Regions from separate parts of the Homo sapiens genome. Here regions 1 and 3 are each linked to region 2. The links are contacts of gene promoters, found by promoter capture Hi-C in human tissues and cell types (Jung and others, 2019). All regions are on one chromosome and are shown on one strand. Each heading gives the region's core, a stretch centred on a gene start or on the middle of the fragment in contact. The rest is flanking DNA. Distances are from core to core; before and after follow the strand shown.

Region 1 (5,046 bases), core at 2,012-4,511, 340 kb after region 2:
TAAGGCTGTCACGAAGAAATCCCTGCTTTTCAAAATAAAATATTTCAAGACAATAGGGTCGATGTGAGCTTCAGAGAATAAGTATTTAGGGATCATAAATTTAAAAAATGGTTTTTTAGTTGGTAGAAAATACAAGCTATCTTTGGCTAATAAAAGTGTTTCACTCAAGTCATGAAACAAGTTTGACCTCAATTTGTTTTGATCCTAAAAAATTAATTTATAATAAATTACCAAGAATATTATTATATACTATCAAAATACAAGTTACACGAAGAATCTCTGGAGTCAGAAGATATGGACCTAGTAATAAATAAACTGCATTTTTCTTCTATTTAAGTTTTAAAAATTAAAATCATCATTTATGTTGGAAGGGTGGGACAATGAGGACATTCATGCACTGCTGGGGCCTTATAAAATGAGAAAATATTAATGTGCATCCCTTTCCACTTAAAATATGTATCCTATAAAGGACAAATGAACAAATGTCTAAGGATTTAGACATTAGACTATTCCCATAGCGTGGCTTATTACAACCAGAATATTTTGAGGAAAAGTTAAGTAAATAATGATGAAAGGCTTTCTAGCCTTTAGAGATGATAATAAGCAAATATTCATTGAGAGAAATATGTTCATAATTGGTTAAGTGAAAAAAATATATTTTGGGCTTGTGGTTTCTAGTCTAGCATGTAAACAGGTTGGAAGTTACAAATTTATCCCAACAAGAAAAAAACCTGAACAAAATAAACAAACTCCCCTTAGATCATCAGAGAAGTGAAGTCAGTCATAGGGTAATCTATTAACACCCAAAATTGGAGAGACAGGCAAATACAGAGCATCGCAAGCTCAGAAACACATGATAAGAAACCTCCATGGAAATTAGTACTTAGAAATGAACTGTAATTGATTAATTGCTGGAGGCTCAGTATGAATCAGTCTGAGAGTTAAAATTTTCAGGGAGGTTAAGCCACAGGCAGATCCCCACAATTTTTTGAGTCTTACCTCCGGGAACCTTACCAGGTTCTCATAGTGAATATCTGAGAAAAATCTCCTAGGGCTTCCAATGAAGGAGGGAAAAAATAAACATTTCGAATTCACAATAGCATTCTGTCCTTTAAAAAGGCCTGCATTCAAGAGAAACTATTTTACCAGAGCCTAACCTGCTGTTTCCTTGTTTTGTTTTGTTTTGTTGTTTTGTTTGTTTTTCAGAGTCTAACTTACCTGGGGAAGGGAAATACCCAACTCCAGTACCCTCTAGCCATTCTGTCTCACTTAAGGGAAAAAAAATACTGAGAATCACTGGCGAAGTTCACAGTCCCAGAGCACAGGTGTACCCAAACCCTCACACAGATTTATAAACTATAAGAATGCTTTATCTTCCCCCACAAAAACAAAAGCACAACGTACCAAAAGTAATGAAATGAAGCAAAAGCAGTACCAAGAGGGCAGTTGACAGTAATGAATGACTATATTATAAAGAGGAAGGATATTAATTAACAATTTAACTTCATACCTCAAGGAACACTCAAATGCATTTTATCAGGCCAGCATTACCTTTATACCAATGCCAGACAAAGGCATCACAAAAAAGAAAACAAAGGCATCACAAAAAAGAAAACAAAGCCAAGATCCTTGGTAAATTTGAATACAAAATTCCTCAATAAAATACTAGCAAACTGAGTCCAACATAACATTAAGAGAATCATACTAACATTAAGAGAATCATACACTATGATTATTGGGATTTATACCTGATACATAAGGATGGTTCAACTTTTTAAAATTAATGTATGTTATTATACAATATCAATATAGCACATTACATAATAAAAAATAAAAATTACAGGATCATAAATGCAGAAAAGGCACTTATCAAAATTAATTATGCTTTCATGATAGAAATTCTCAACACATTACGAAAAGTAAGAAATTACCTCAACATAATAAAGGTCAAATATGATAAGCCCACAGCTAACATCATACTTGACAGTGAAAAATTTAAAGTTTTTCCTCCAATATCAAGAACAAGACAAGGATGCCCACTTTTACCGTTTCTATTAAACATACTACTGGAAGTCCTAGCCAGAGCAAGTAGGCAAGAAAAAGAAGTAAAAGTCATTCAAATAAGAAAGAAAAAGTAAAATGTTCCCTGGTGTAGATGGTATAATCTGTTAACTTTTAGAAACTGTTAGAAAAATTGAATGAATTCAGTAGAGTTGTAGGATACAAAATCAACTTACAAAAATCAGTTGCACTTCTATATACTAACAATGAACTATCTGAAGAGGGAACTATGAAAATCCCATTTAAAACAGCACAAAAAGAATAAACTAGGAATAAACTTCAGTAAGGAGGTCAAAGACTTATATACTGAAACCTACAAAACATTGATAAAAGAAATTAAACCAGAAGAAAACAAATATGAAGACTTTCCATCTTCATGGATTGAACAACATGATATTGTTAAAATGTCCACACTACCCAAAGTAATCTCTACCAAATCCCAATGGTATTTTTTTACAGATATAGAAACAATTCTAAAATTCACATGCAACCACAAAAGTCTCTGAATAGCTAAATAAATCTTGAGCAAACAGAATAAAACCATAGACACCATATTTTCTGATTTTAAAATACATTACAAATTACAGTAATCTAAACAGAATGCACTGACATAAAGATGGACATAAAAACCAATGGAAAAGCATACAGAGCCTAGAAACAAATCTACATATTTACAGTCAACTGACTTTCCAGAAAGGTGCCAAAATACACAATGAAAAACAGAATGTCTCTTCAATAAATGGTACTGAGAAAACTGGAATCCACATGCAAAAGAATGAAACTGGACCCTTATATCACACCGTACACAAAACTTTATTCTAAACAGATTAAAGACCTAAATGTAAGATCCCAAACATTAAAATTCGTAGAAGTGAGAGTGGGCTAAGGACTCAAATAGACGTTTCTCCAAAAAGACACGTAAATGCCCAAGAGGTAGATGAAAAAGTACTCAATGTTTCTGATCTTAATGTAAATGCAAATCAAAACCATGATAAGGTGTTATATCAAACCTACCAGGATGACTATTACTTAAAAAAAGTAGAAGAAGAAACAATACTAGGGAAAGAAATTGGTACCCTTGCATGGTACTGCTGAGGGGAATGCAAAATGGCGCAGCTGCTATAAATAGTAAGAAGGTTCCTCAAAAATTTAAAAATAGCACTGCCATATGATCCAGAAATCCCATTCCGGATCTGAAATCATGATCTTGTGGATATATTAACACTTCTGTGTTCATTGTTGCACTATTCATTACAGCTAAGAAATAAAAATAGTCTAAATGCCATCAGCAGATGAATGGATACAGAAAATGTGATATATACATACAATGGAATACTACTCAGCCTTTTAAAATAAAGAAATTCTGCAATATGCAACAACATGGATGCAACCTAAAGACATTATATTAAATAAAATAAGCCAGTAACAAAAAGACAATGCATGATTTATGTAACGTAACTAACATAGTTACATTCATTGAATCAAAGTGTGGAATGGTGGTAACCAGGGGCTGGAGGATGGAGAAATGGAGTTGGAAATCAACAGATATAAACTTTCACTCAAGCAACATAAACAAGCCTAGAGATCTATTCTACAATATTGTACCTACAGTCAAAAATTATGTAGTGTACACTTAAAAATTGTTAACAGATCTCATGTTAAGTGTTATTTCACAATTTTAAAAAGTGAAGGAGAAATAAAACCTTTCTCAGACAAATAAATATTGAATAAATTTGTTGCCAGTAGACTTGTCTTGCAAGAATTGTTAAAAGAAGTTATTTATTTGAAAAGAAGAAAAATGATATAGGTCAGAAACACATATCTACGTAAAAAAGGAAGAGCATTAGAGAAGGAATAAATGAAGGTAAACAAAAGCTTTTATTTTTCTTATTCTTAGTTGGTCTAATAGATAACATTTTGTTCATAAAGTAATAGCAACAATGTATTTCATTATGTATGCTTACACATATATCTTTGTGTGTGTGTGTGTGTGTGTGTGTGTCTGCATTAGTTCGTTCTTGTACTGTTACAAATAAATACCTGAAACTGGGTAATTTATAAAGGAAAGAGGTTTAATTGGCTTATGGTTCTACAGGCTGTACAGGCTTCTGCTTCTGAGGAGGCCTCGGGAAACTTACAAGAATGATGGATGGTGAAGGGGAAGCTGGAACGTCTTACCTGGCAAGAGCAGGAGGAAGAGGGAGAAGGGGGAGGTGCTATACACTTTTAAACAACCAGATCTCATGAGAACTCACTCACTATCATGAGAAAAGCAAGGAGAAATCGGCCCCTCTGAGCCAATCACCACCCACCAGGTCCTTCCTTCAACATTGGGGATTACAATTCCTCATGAGATTTGTGTGGGGACACAAATTCAAACCATATCAGTATCTAAGAACAGTATATATGCTTAGATGTAAATGACAGCTATGATACAAGAAATGGGAGGAAGGCATTTTAATTATTTTTTTAAAATATAAGGTATTCATACTACCTGTGAAGCAATAGCATGCTCTTTGAAAGTGGGTTTGCATTAGCTGTAAGGGTATATTGCAAACATTAGAGAAATTACTTCCATATAGCAAAAGTAAATGGATTGAGAAAGATATTTCTAGTTTTCCACCTTAGGAAACTTGAAAGAGTAAATAAAATCAAAAGTAAGCAGAAGAAAAGAAATAATAAAAATTAGAGCAGAAATCAATGAAATTAAAAACAAGAAATCAATAGAGAAAACCAAAAGATGGTTTTTTGAAAAGATGAAAAAATTGAAAAGCTAAGAATAGAGATGATACTAATTACTAATATCAGAACTAAAAGTACTGGGAAAACTTAGATAAAATAGGCCAATTCCTTAAAAGACACAATTTCTCAACAAATACATAGTTATTTCTTGTTACAAAGGAAAACATTCTTACAAAAGAAATGTAAGGGATAGACATAAATCTATTAAAAATCAAATCAGGGGAGGTGGAAGAAGATGGCAGA
Region 2 (4,457 bases), core at 1-2,500:
TCTGATAATTAGTCCTTGCTGTCGCTCCAGGGCAGAAATGCTTGACACCTGGCCTCTAGGCCATCTGTGCTGGAGGACGCTGCCCCGCACCCGCCCCCTTGAAGTTCTCTGATGACCGCAACTTACCTGGCCGGGATGCTCTGGCCGGGCAGCTCTTCGTGCCAGCCCAAGACCTTTGGGGAAGAGAAGAAAACAAAACAAAACAAAACAACTTACCACCTTGGCCCAGTCCAAGAACAAGTGAAAACACCCAGGCTGCCCAGAGGAACGAGGCGGGACCTCGCCGGTCGTTTTGCAGGCAGACAAATGCAGCGGTAAAAAAAGCCAGGGCCGAGCCGCACATAATGCAAAACAGCCCGCCCCGCGCCCGCCGCCTGACTGCCTTCCGGACGCGGGCTCGCGCCTCCCGGGCGCACCTCGGGGCCCGCGGGCCGAGTGTCGCTAGGACGTTTTCCGCAGGCCTAGCAGGCGGACCCCGCGGCTCGGAGCAAGCGGTGCAGGTAAGCGGGCCCGGGCACCGCTCGGCATCTCAGGGCCCCTGCGGCCCTCCCGGCTCGGCACGGCGGGTCCCGCGGTCTCCGCGAGAAGCACCTCCTTCGACGGCCAAGGGCCCCGGCGGCGACTGGAGAGAGGGCTCTGCAAGGGCTCCGCAGCCTGCTCCGGGACAAAGAAAAGAGCTTTTGTTTCTCTCCAGCCGGTGGGGCTTCTGCTGCATAAATCAGCTTAGCGAAGAGCCAAACACAATCAAACCCAAACAAAGCCCGAAGCTGGGGGGGAAACCACCCTAATGTACATTCACTGGGTGATGCTGGATCTGTGGGAGGGGACGCCGGCGAGGTCGAGGGGAAAAAAGTCTGTGGCGCATCAATCAGCGCAGTTGCTTCCACAGGTGGGCAGGGAGGCCAACACCATTAGTTGCAGCTTTGCAGCCCCGTCTGCGGAGCAGCGGGCAAAGACAAGTCGGCAGCGTCCTGGCTGGCAAGGGAGGAAGCTCGGGATGCCAGCAACAGGGGGAGGCGGCTCTGGGAGCGCCCTAGAAGCACCCGCCGACACCCGCAGGCACAGAGCGAGGCATCGCCGCTCCCTCCCTGGCGGGGAGTGGGGCCTGCGGCTGCGAGCGCAGGAGGGGAGGTTCCGCGAGGTGCCGGAGCCCGGCTTCGCGGGGCGGGGGCTGCGTGCCCTTGTCCTTTTCGCCTCAGTGCGCGGCTCAGGCGTCCCGCAGTCCAGAGCCCGAGTTGCTGGCGCGCTCTGGGGTGCACACGGCTAGGATGCGAGAGAGGCGAGGCCGGCGATGGGCGGGAGAGGGGTGGTCCTGCTCTGGCCCCCCGGGGGGCTCCAGACCTGCGGGTAGCCGGGTGCACTCAGGGCAGAGAGTTGCTAGGAAACCTCCCCACGCTACCGGAGCGCCTCGCCTCGGCTGCCCGCAGGCGCGGCTGCAGCCCGGGCAGGAGCAGCAGTAACAGCTCGGAGCAGCGTGGGCGGGACATTGGTGAGGCATGAAGTCACCGCGGCCCACACTCGCTCTTTGTTTTGCTCACTCCAGCTCTTTCTTTTCCCCCTTGGCTCTGATAGTTGCCATTCCCATCGTTCACAAGAACTCCTGAAGCGTAGCCGCGCAACAGGAATGGCACGCCTCGTTCCCTTCTCCCTCCTCCCCCGAATCCTTGCACCCCAACGCTCGCGGGGGTGGTGGGAGACTCGCTCAGCGCCAGCGGCAGCTGCGAGCAAACCCCAATCTCTCACCCCCGCGCTGCTCGCCGCTTTGTTCGGAGATACTCACTGCCCCGCAGCTGCTGCATACAAAGTGGAGTCAAGGGACCTCCCCTGCCCCCAACGCCCTCTACTCAGCACTTTGCTTGCAGTTAGGAGCTCGTCCTCTACCCCACCACAAGGCTGCCCCGGTGTCCCTAGCCTTTGGAGAGTTGGACCAGTCTGCAGGGGCTGTTCCCGGAGCGACTGGCCGAGATTTCTCGCTGCTCCTTCTCTGCTCAAAACCTTAACCCTGGACTGGACAGCCCTGTTTTTCCCCAGCGTCTGGTGGTGGCTCTGGGCTTTTGCAAGTTACAGTGGGTCTTTTGATCTTAAGCGTCACCTTCCCAGTAAACGGAACAAAAAGTTACAGACAGCAGCAAAGCGGGGAGAGGGGAGCTAAGGAGAGAAAGTGGAAGGCACTTCTGCCTGCTTGCAGCTCAGAAATTTAGGTGCAAGTAGGGTGCGGGTGTTATGCTGGGCAACTGCCCGGAAGCAGCGCGCCTCCTCGGGTCCTGTCATTACCACGCTAAGTCGAGGGAGGGAACTCAGTCCCCCGCATTGGAAACAAGGCAGTGTTTCCAGTTTAACACGGTGATGGTTCTCTTTTCCCTCTAGGGGCAGGAGCGATTCCCATTCGAGGAGTTTGACCTCTCATTTTAATACAACACCCGCCTCTTAGAGGCAGCAGACCAGTCCAGCCAGGTCAAGGTGAAATATGCGGGAGTTTCCCCCCTTCTTATTTAATAGTTTCCGTCTCCTTATTTGTAGTTAAAAAAAAAAAAAAAAAAAAAGTAGGAGGCGCGGTCTCTCTCTTTCTTTCTGTTGACTGAGTGAATGGAAAGTACCTGGTTAATAAACCACAACATCGAAACTCCCCCTTTCAGGTGTGGACCGCACAACGGGGTGCACAGGATTAGTTAAGCAAAGCAGGAACCCAGCTGGAAAATTAAACGAGCCCTGGATCTGCAAAGCAGGTCCCTTCGCGAGACCAAAGCCGTGATCCCAACCTTAGCAACATAATTCTACTGGAGGTGATGTACTCTAAATAAATAGAAATAAATCCAGCTCCGCTTTAATATTTATTTCCTTTCCTTAGTTCCAAGTTTGAACAGTTATAGTTTTGTTTTTTGGTTGTCTTAAAGGAAAGGCCTAAAAATTAGTTAGGATGGGTGTGAGGACTTGAAAATTTGAACACAAAAATATCATATTCAATATCTGATTAGTGACTCTTCCATTGGGCAGCCTGGGTATTTTCCAGGGGTTATGTCACAGACCTACTGAATGCAGCCACCCTTGAGACATGCAGTGCTTCAATCAAAAAAAAAAAAAATTAAATCCCTAATTCCCATAAGGACATGTCAATACACTTTAAAGTGTCTATCATATCACCATTCCATAATATTCTAAAATACAACTCTTTGTTGCTGGGTTGTAAGTGGCAGTTACAGTAATAAATAAAATATAAATGTATGCAAACAAGAAAGGATGTAACTTTATGAAATTGATGAGGTATGCACTAATTTTTGTAACTCTGTTTTTAGGTGTTGATATATATACTAATCCAGAACAACCATGTAGCAAGAGGAATAAAATGAAGTTCAGAAGTCTGTTTCGGGAAATTTTGAAGCCCTTTAGAAAGAAAGATTTCTACATTTTGTTACATGAAATTCATGCAAATATATGTCAGGTGCCAGTGCTATGGAGTTGTTGAAGAATAAGCACAATACCATTTATTACCACTTCTCAGTTGTAAAGAGGCTGTAACTCTGGTTGTCGAAATAAAATAAAATGAAATCTCCTAGATGTGACACTGTGACCCCTGCCAGTTATTTACAAACAAGTTATCTGCACATTTTGGGCTGTAAACATAAAAGTAAACTCTCTGAAAGACTGCAAATCATCTTTAGGGTTTTCTTAAAGTAAATACAACTAGTGGCCCAGGAACCAAAAGTTTGCTTGTTTCCAGTTAATGTCACTGGTCACCATAACTCACCCTTTTTCCTATGAGGAAATGTACAGCATATTTTAAAGAAATGCAGTATTGTTATCTTCGTCATATTACCTGAAGAATTCTAATAAAGGAAAAATGTTTCGGAAGATGGTGACTTGATTAATTTGTTTTTCCATCATGTTCTGCTATATTGCTTTGAAATTTCTGACAGCTAATTTTTCATCATTTGTGGTAATGAGAGGAAATGAAATTCACAGATAGTCTAAAAATAACATTTTAGTTATTCATTCCAGGCTTCCTATCATTAGAGTCTTTGAGCTGAGTTACTAAAAAGTCATAAAATTAAATTACTTAAATTTCTTCCCTACTCCTTTAACCTTGATTTCTCACTAAGTGAGTTTATGGTGAGAATGAATAAGCTATAGATAGGTAGCAGGAGTGAGGGAGACACTCAGACTGTTTTTTAAGAAATGGAATCTTGCTATCTCACTATGTTGCCCAAACTGGCCTTGAACTCCTGGTTCAAGTTTGAACTCAAGCTATCCTCCCACCTCAGCCTTCTGTGTAGCTGGGATTATAGGTGTAAGACACCACATACAGCTGTGGCTATTCACACTTTAACTAGATGTGCCCAAATTATTGATCTCATAGTGGCACCTACAGACACATTTGAATTTTAATGTTACATCTTTTTGAAGTTGGGATCAGAGCCATTCAGTACGTTTTGGGTGGGTATTCACAAGTTATCTATAAG
Region 3 (4,474 bases), core at 470-2,969, 400 kb after region 2:
GAAGTACTAACATAAAGCTCCCTCTTCCCACAGGAACATCGATTTCAGCATACCTTAAACCTTTTGAACAGACTTGTCGATACTCTCTTGGAAAAGTATTTTTAAAAATAGAATTGAATATTTTTAAACTTTCATCCCAATAGAAAGCTAAAGTTAATGAGGAAACTTGGATTCATTTCACAAAACGTTGCTTGTAAGCTATTTTGCTTGGCTACATGTTCCCTGGACAAACCCAAAAGACTGGTATAAATTCCAATACTGTCACTCACAGTATCACAAACTTTTGGTGACTCAATCGCTTTACCTTTATGTTGTTCTTTCTAGGACCAGTTTCACAGAGGTTATGCCATTCTCAGATTTCTTAGAATTGGTCAATCTTAGGTCATTTGACTTGAGAAATCCTCAAAGATTTTACTGTTTTAAAGTATTAATACATCCATCACCACAAAGGAATCAGTTAATGTGCTGTTATATCTCAAAGAGGTTACAGTACCATCTTCATTTTTCTCAACAGCCTCCTCTAAATTCTATTCTTTCTCTTTGCCTTAAAAATCTACACAATGAAAGAGAGCACAAGGAAAGTCTCCCGGGAAATACAGGGAGAAAAAAATTAATCAAAATGTCCAACAACAGATTATCCAATAATTTATGATATATCAGGACATAGAATACTATACAACCAAGAAAAATACTAATGTACTTATAGATCTATTTATATTAAAAAAGTTAATGATATATATTTTGTGTATTCCATATTACAAGCACTAGGCTAAGTCCCAGATATATCATGGTGAGCAGGAGAGACTGGAGCCCTGACTTTCTGAAGTTTTGAATCCAGTGGGAGATACTAACAATAGATAAGTGAAGAACTACAACCATAAAAATTATTATTAAAAAAAACCACGTGCTGGAATTTCTGAAAAAAATAAGCATGCCTATATTCAAATATGTAATGTAAAAAATAAAGGTATGCACAAAAAAGTCCATAAAGGTACAAACAAAATATGGGCAGTAGTTTCCAGTGGCTGCTGGCAGAACAGGCATCAGGAAGTATGCATGAATGTAGTCATGCAGAAGTTATCTAAAATCCCTGCTGACTGATCAGTACCCATGCCACACTGGTTATTATTAATACATACTTGGGATATCACCACTGGGTGTTAGTATTCTGGCCAATCCTTACTTCCATTATGTTTTCTAGATTATCTAATTTTTAAACACAATGCTTTATTATTTCATATTTAATTATAAAACATTTTAAACATACACACAGTAGAGAAAACATTCACTTTTTTTTTTCTTTTTTTTTTTTTTTTGAGATGGAATCTCTCTCTGTCACCCAGGTTGGAGTGCAATGGTGCGATCTTGGCTCACTGCAAGCTCCGCCTTCCGGGCTCCCGCCATTCTCCTGCCTCAGCCTCCCGAGCAGCTGGGACTACAGGCGCCCACCACGACGCCTGGCTAACTTTTTGTATTTTTAGTAGAGACGCGGTTTCACCGTGTTAGCCAGGATCGTCTCGATCTCCTGACCTCGTGATCCACCCGCCTTGGCCTCCCAAAGCGCTGGGATTACAGGCGTGAGCCACCGCGCCCAGCCAGAAAATATTCACTTCTTTATTCGACATATAAGTTTAACAACAGTTAAGGAATTGACATTTTTGTTTTAGGATTTTTTTTAATGAAATTATCATAGATAGAGCTAAATTCTTAAAACTTAATCCTTTTTTTTTCTTTTCCTCTCCTTCCCATGTGTAATCACTTCTCTAAAAATATGCTGATTTTATGTTCTAATAAAAAGGGCTTTAAAAATCAATATATAGTACAGATATAAAAGTCTGAACCACCAAAAAAGTAAAGAAAAAGAAAAGCAAGGAAAAAAAAAGAAAGAAAAAGAAAAAATGAGGCAAAAACCGTGGAGTGATGAGTAATTGTTAGGAGAATGAAAGAGAAAGCTTAACTTTACAAAAGTCCCTGCTGAATGAAATGGTCAAAGTAATTGTAAGAAATCACAAAAAGCATGTTGAAAAGCTCAGAATAGCCTTAAACTGCAAAACTTCCTGCAGCTTGAGAGAACCTTCCTGCTGAATTACTAAATTTTAGAAATATAAAAATAAACTAACCACTGAAACATCCAACTGTTGTAAGAAAGTTCTAGATTCAAAAATAAACAGAAGCAAAAGCATCGTTTAAGAAAGTCCTTTGAAGAAATCCCACACTCATAATTTAAATGAATGCTCAAATAAATGTTGTTATTAACTTTTTTGAGTGTCATCAATGAATCAATCACTATGCTAGTACTCGTTTTAGAAGATGAGTAGAAAATAATCTTTTCTTCAAGGAGTTCACAATCCAGTTAATAAAACTTATTAGATGACATGGCGTCTTTCTTTTCTCATATGTTCCCACTACTCAGAGAAGAGTTGCATATAATAGGCATGAGGGGTATTATTAAATGTTTAATAATTAGCTCTCTAAGGAAAACAAAAACCCGATTTGCAGCATTTTCCAATTTCCACGGCATTAATACTACCCCCATGGTTGATTTCAGGATGACATTATATTATGAAACATTGTATTTCTTTTTGGAAAGAAATACACACCAGAACACTAGATTCACCAGAGCTAGCTAGCTCAAGCATTGAACAAATATTTGTTCCATGAAGACAAACAGTATAATAATTTTTATAAAAGAGGTTGCTTTAACATATGACAGAAGCACAAAAAAAATGATCAGATCTGTTGGAAGGGAGGGCTTAGGTATTTCAAAGTCTTTTCTGAGGTGATCTCTGAATTTTTTTTTCCACTACAGCTATGTTTCATTTATAAGTTTCACTAGAGTCACTGTTCTCAAAGAGGGTACAAGATGACTCAGTAGTGGTAGTAGGAGGTTTGTATTACTGTTTCCAGTATTTTTAAAACAGCAATGCTACTAAACAATCTACAGTGAACAGGACATCTCCCCACACCCCTCCAGCAAAAACAACTGTGCAAATTGTCAAATGTATCAACAGTGCTGAGATTAAGAACCCCTGCACTGGAATAACAGAGAAGAATCTAGATGAAGGGAACAGCTGGTGCAAAGGCAATGAATAATGAAAGAAAAGTGTATTTTTACCTGGGATACTATGGAAACAAGCTGAGACTCAAAAACAGTGTTTTCACAAAGCTTTTAAAGAAGAGTTTTCCTATATTAGAATAACTCTATGCTTTCCTAATTTCATCTTTTATAACAATAACATCTTTTCATAACAATACACTTTCACTTCTTGTCTTTTGGTGTTTTCCTTTGTGAATCATATTTGCTTTCTCACATCCCATATTGTTTCAAAAATGAAGTTGCATCCTTAACTTTTTCCAACCATTACATACTTCCAAGAACCAATGGATCATCAAAATTAAAATTTAACATTGTGCTTTGCAGGCTTTAACTTACCTATAATGTTTCATATTACATAGAAAAACCTAAGTACCACTAAACATGATACATGATACATGATACATGACGGAAACAGAATGAGGGAAAGATGTATTATAATTATTTCTGGGAAAACAAAAAGATGCAAATATAGATACAGGTCTTTACATTGTTCTATTTTGAGAAAACCAGATCTCATAAAAAGTTAAATTGTGATGTAATCTTTGGGGTTTGAAAAATATCTTTAAATTATGAAATCTCACAAGAAGATTATAGTGAAAGCTGTAATATATATACTTGTATATTGTCACTACTTTTTCTTCTTTTGAGAAGTGATTTGGCAAGTAATTTCAAGATCGATTTTAAAAAAATCATGTTTGTAACCCAAACATTAGCTTCTGGAGATTTATCTTAAGTAAATAAAAAGAATAAAAGTTGCATTCAAGAATTAAAAAAAAGAGAGATTACAAAAAGAGGAAAAACCTCATTTAAAATCTCCAGCCTTTCAGAAAAATCCAAATTCTACTTAAATGGTAGTCCCCATTAGTTAATATTAGGCATATAACAGAAATGGTACATGGTATTAAATGCTAATTAAAGACCAAATTCAAAAAGGAGGGGAAATGTATATCGGAATGGAAATTAGATAGTCATTGTTCTTTGGTACAGTAGTTTCAATTAAGTGCTGAAACCAAAGGATATTATTTAAGGTAGAGTAATGGCAATTGCTTTGTTTTAGATTCCCTGTCTCCTCTCCCTGTAAAATGTTCCTACTTGCCTCTAGTAAACCTGTAAGCGACCAAGCGCTTTGGCTTATTCTATGAAATAGAATATGTAATAGCCAAACAGCATCTTCTACTTCAAGCTAACCTAAACATTATAGCCAGTGTGGAACTTGGAATCAGTCAGATCCAAGTGTAAATTTCATCACTGCCACATACTGCTTGTGTGATCTTTAGCAAGTTCCAAAATTCTAAATATGCATTTCCTCATTGATAGCATACAGTCCTAATAATACCTAATTCATATAAATGTTGCGAGGACAAATTCAAATAGCAT

Evidence for each region. Contacts are between HindIII fragments. The study calls those that stand out against the background at their distance.
Region 1: a contact is called between a fragment that was not itself captured here and the fragment with the promoter of ITGB8 in region 2, in 1 of the 25 tissues and cell types used here (lymphoblastoid cells).
Region 3: a fragment that was not itself captured here is called in contact with the fragment with the promoter of ITGB8 in region 2 in 1 of the 25 tissues and cell types used here (lymphoblastoid cells).

What each region holds. Positions count from the first base shown.
Region 1 is chr7:19,984,879-19,989,924 of GRCh38, reverse strand. All of the region lies in intron 3 of MACC1-OT1 (MACC1 3' UTR overlapping transcript 1), which reads left to right. Among named protein-coding and RNA genes, the nearest start is that of MACC1-OT1, 150 kb to the left of the region's middle. The HindIII fragment of the contact is 4,389 bases long and covers 1,067-5,046 here.
Region 2 is chr7:20,327,693-20,332,149 of GRCh38, reverse strand. ITGB8 (integrin subunit beta 8) reads right to left here and starts at 1,250. Exons shown (of 14, transcript NM_002214.3): 1 at 217-1,250. The coding sequence starts at 343. ITGB8-AS1 (ITGB8 antisense RNA 1) reads left to right here and starts at 388. Exons shown (of 3, transcript NR_110120.1): 1 at 388-500; 2 at 2,637-2,783; 3 at 3,294-3,849. RefSeq lists silencers at 290-529, 1,000-1,389 and enhancers at 1,470-1,759, 1,860-1,929, 2,017-2,629. The HindIII fragment of the contact is 8,908 bases long and covers 1-4,457 here.
Region 3 is chr7:19,926,858-19,931,331 of GRCh38, reverse strand. All of the region lies in intron 5 of MACC1-OT1 (MACC1 3' UTR overlapping transcript 1), which reads left to right. Among named protein-coding and RNA genes, the nearest start is that of TMEM196, 160 kb to the right of the region's middle. The HindIII fragment of the contact is 5,349 bases long and covers 1-4,393 here.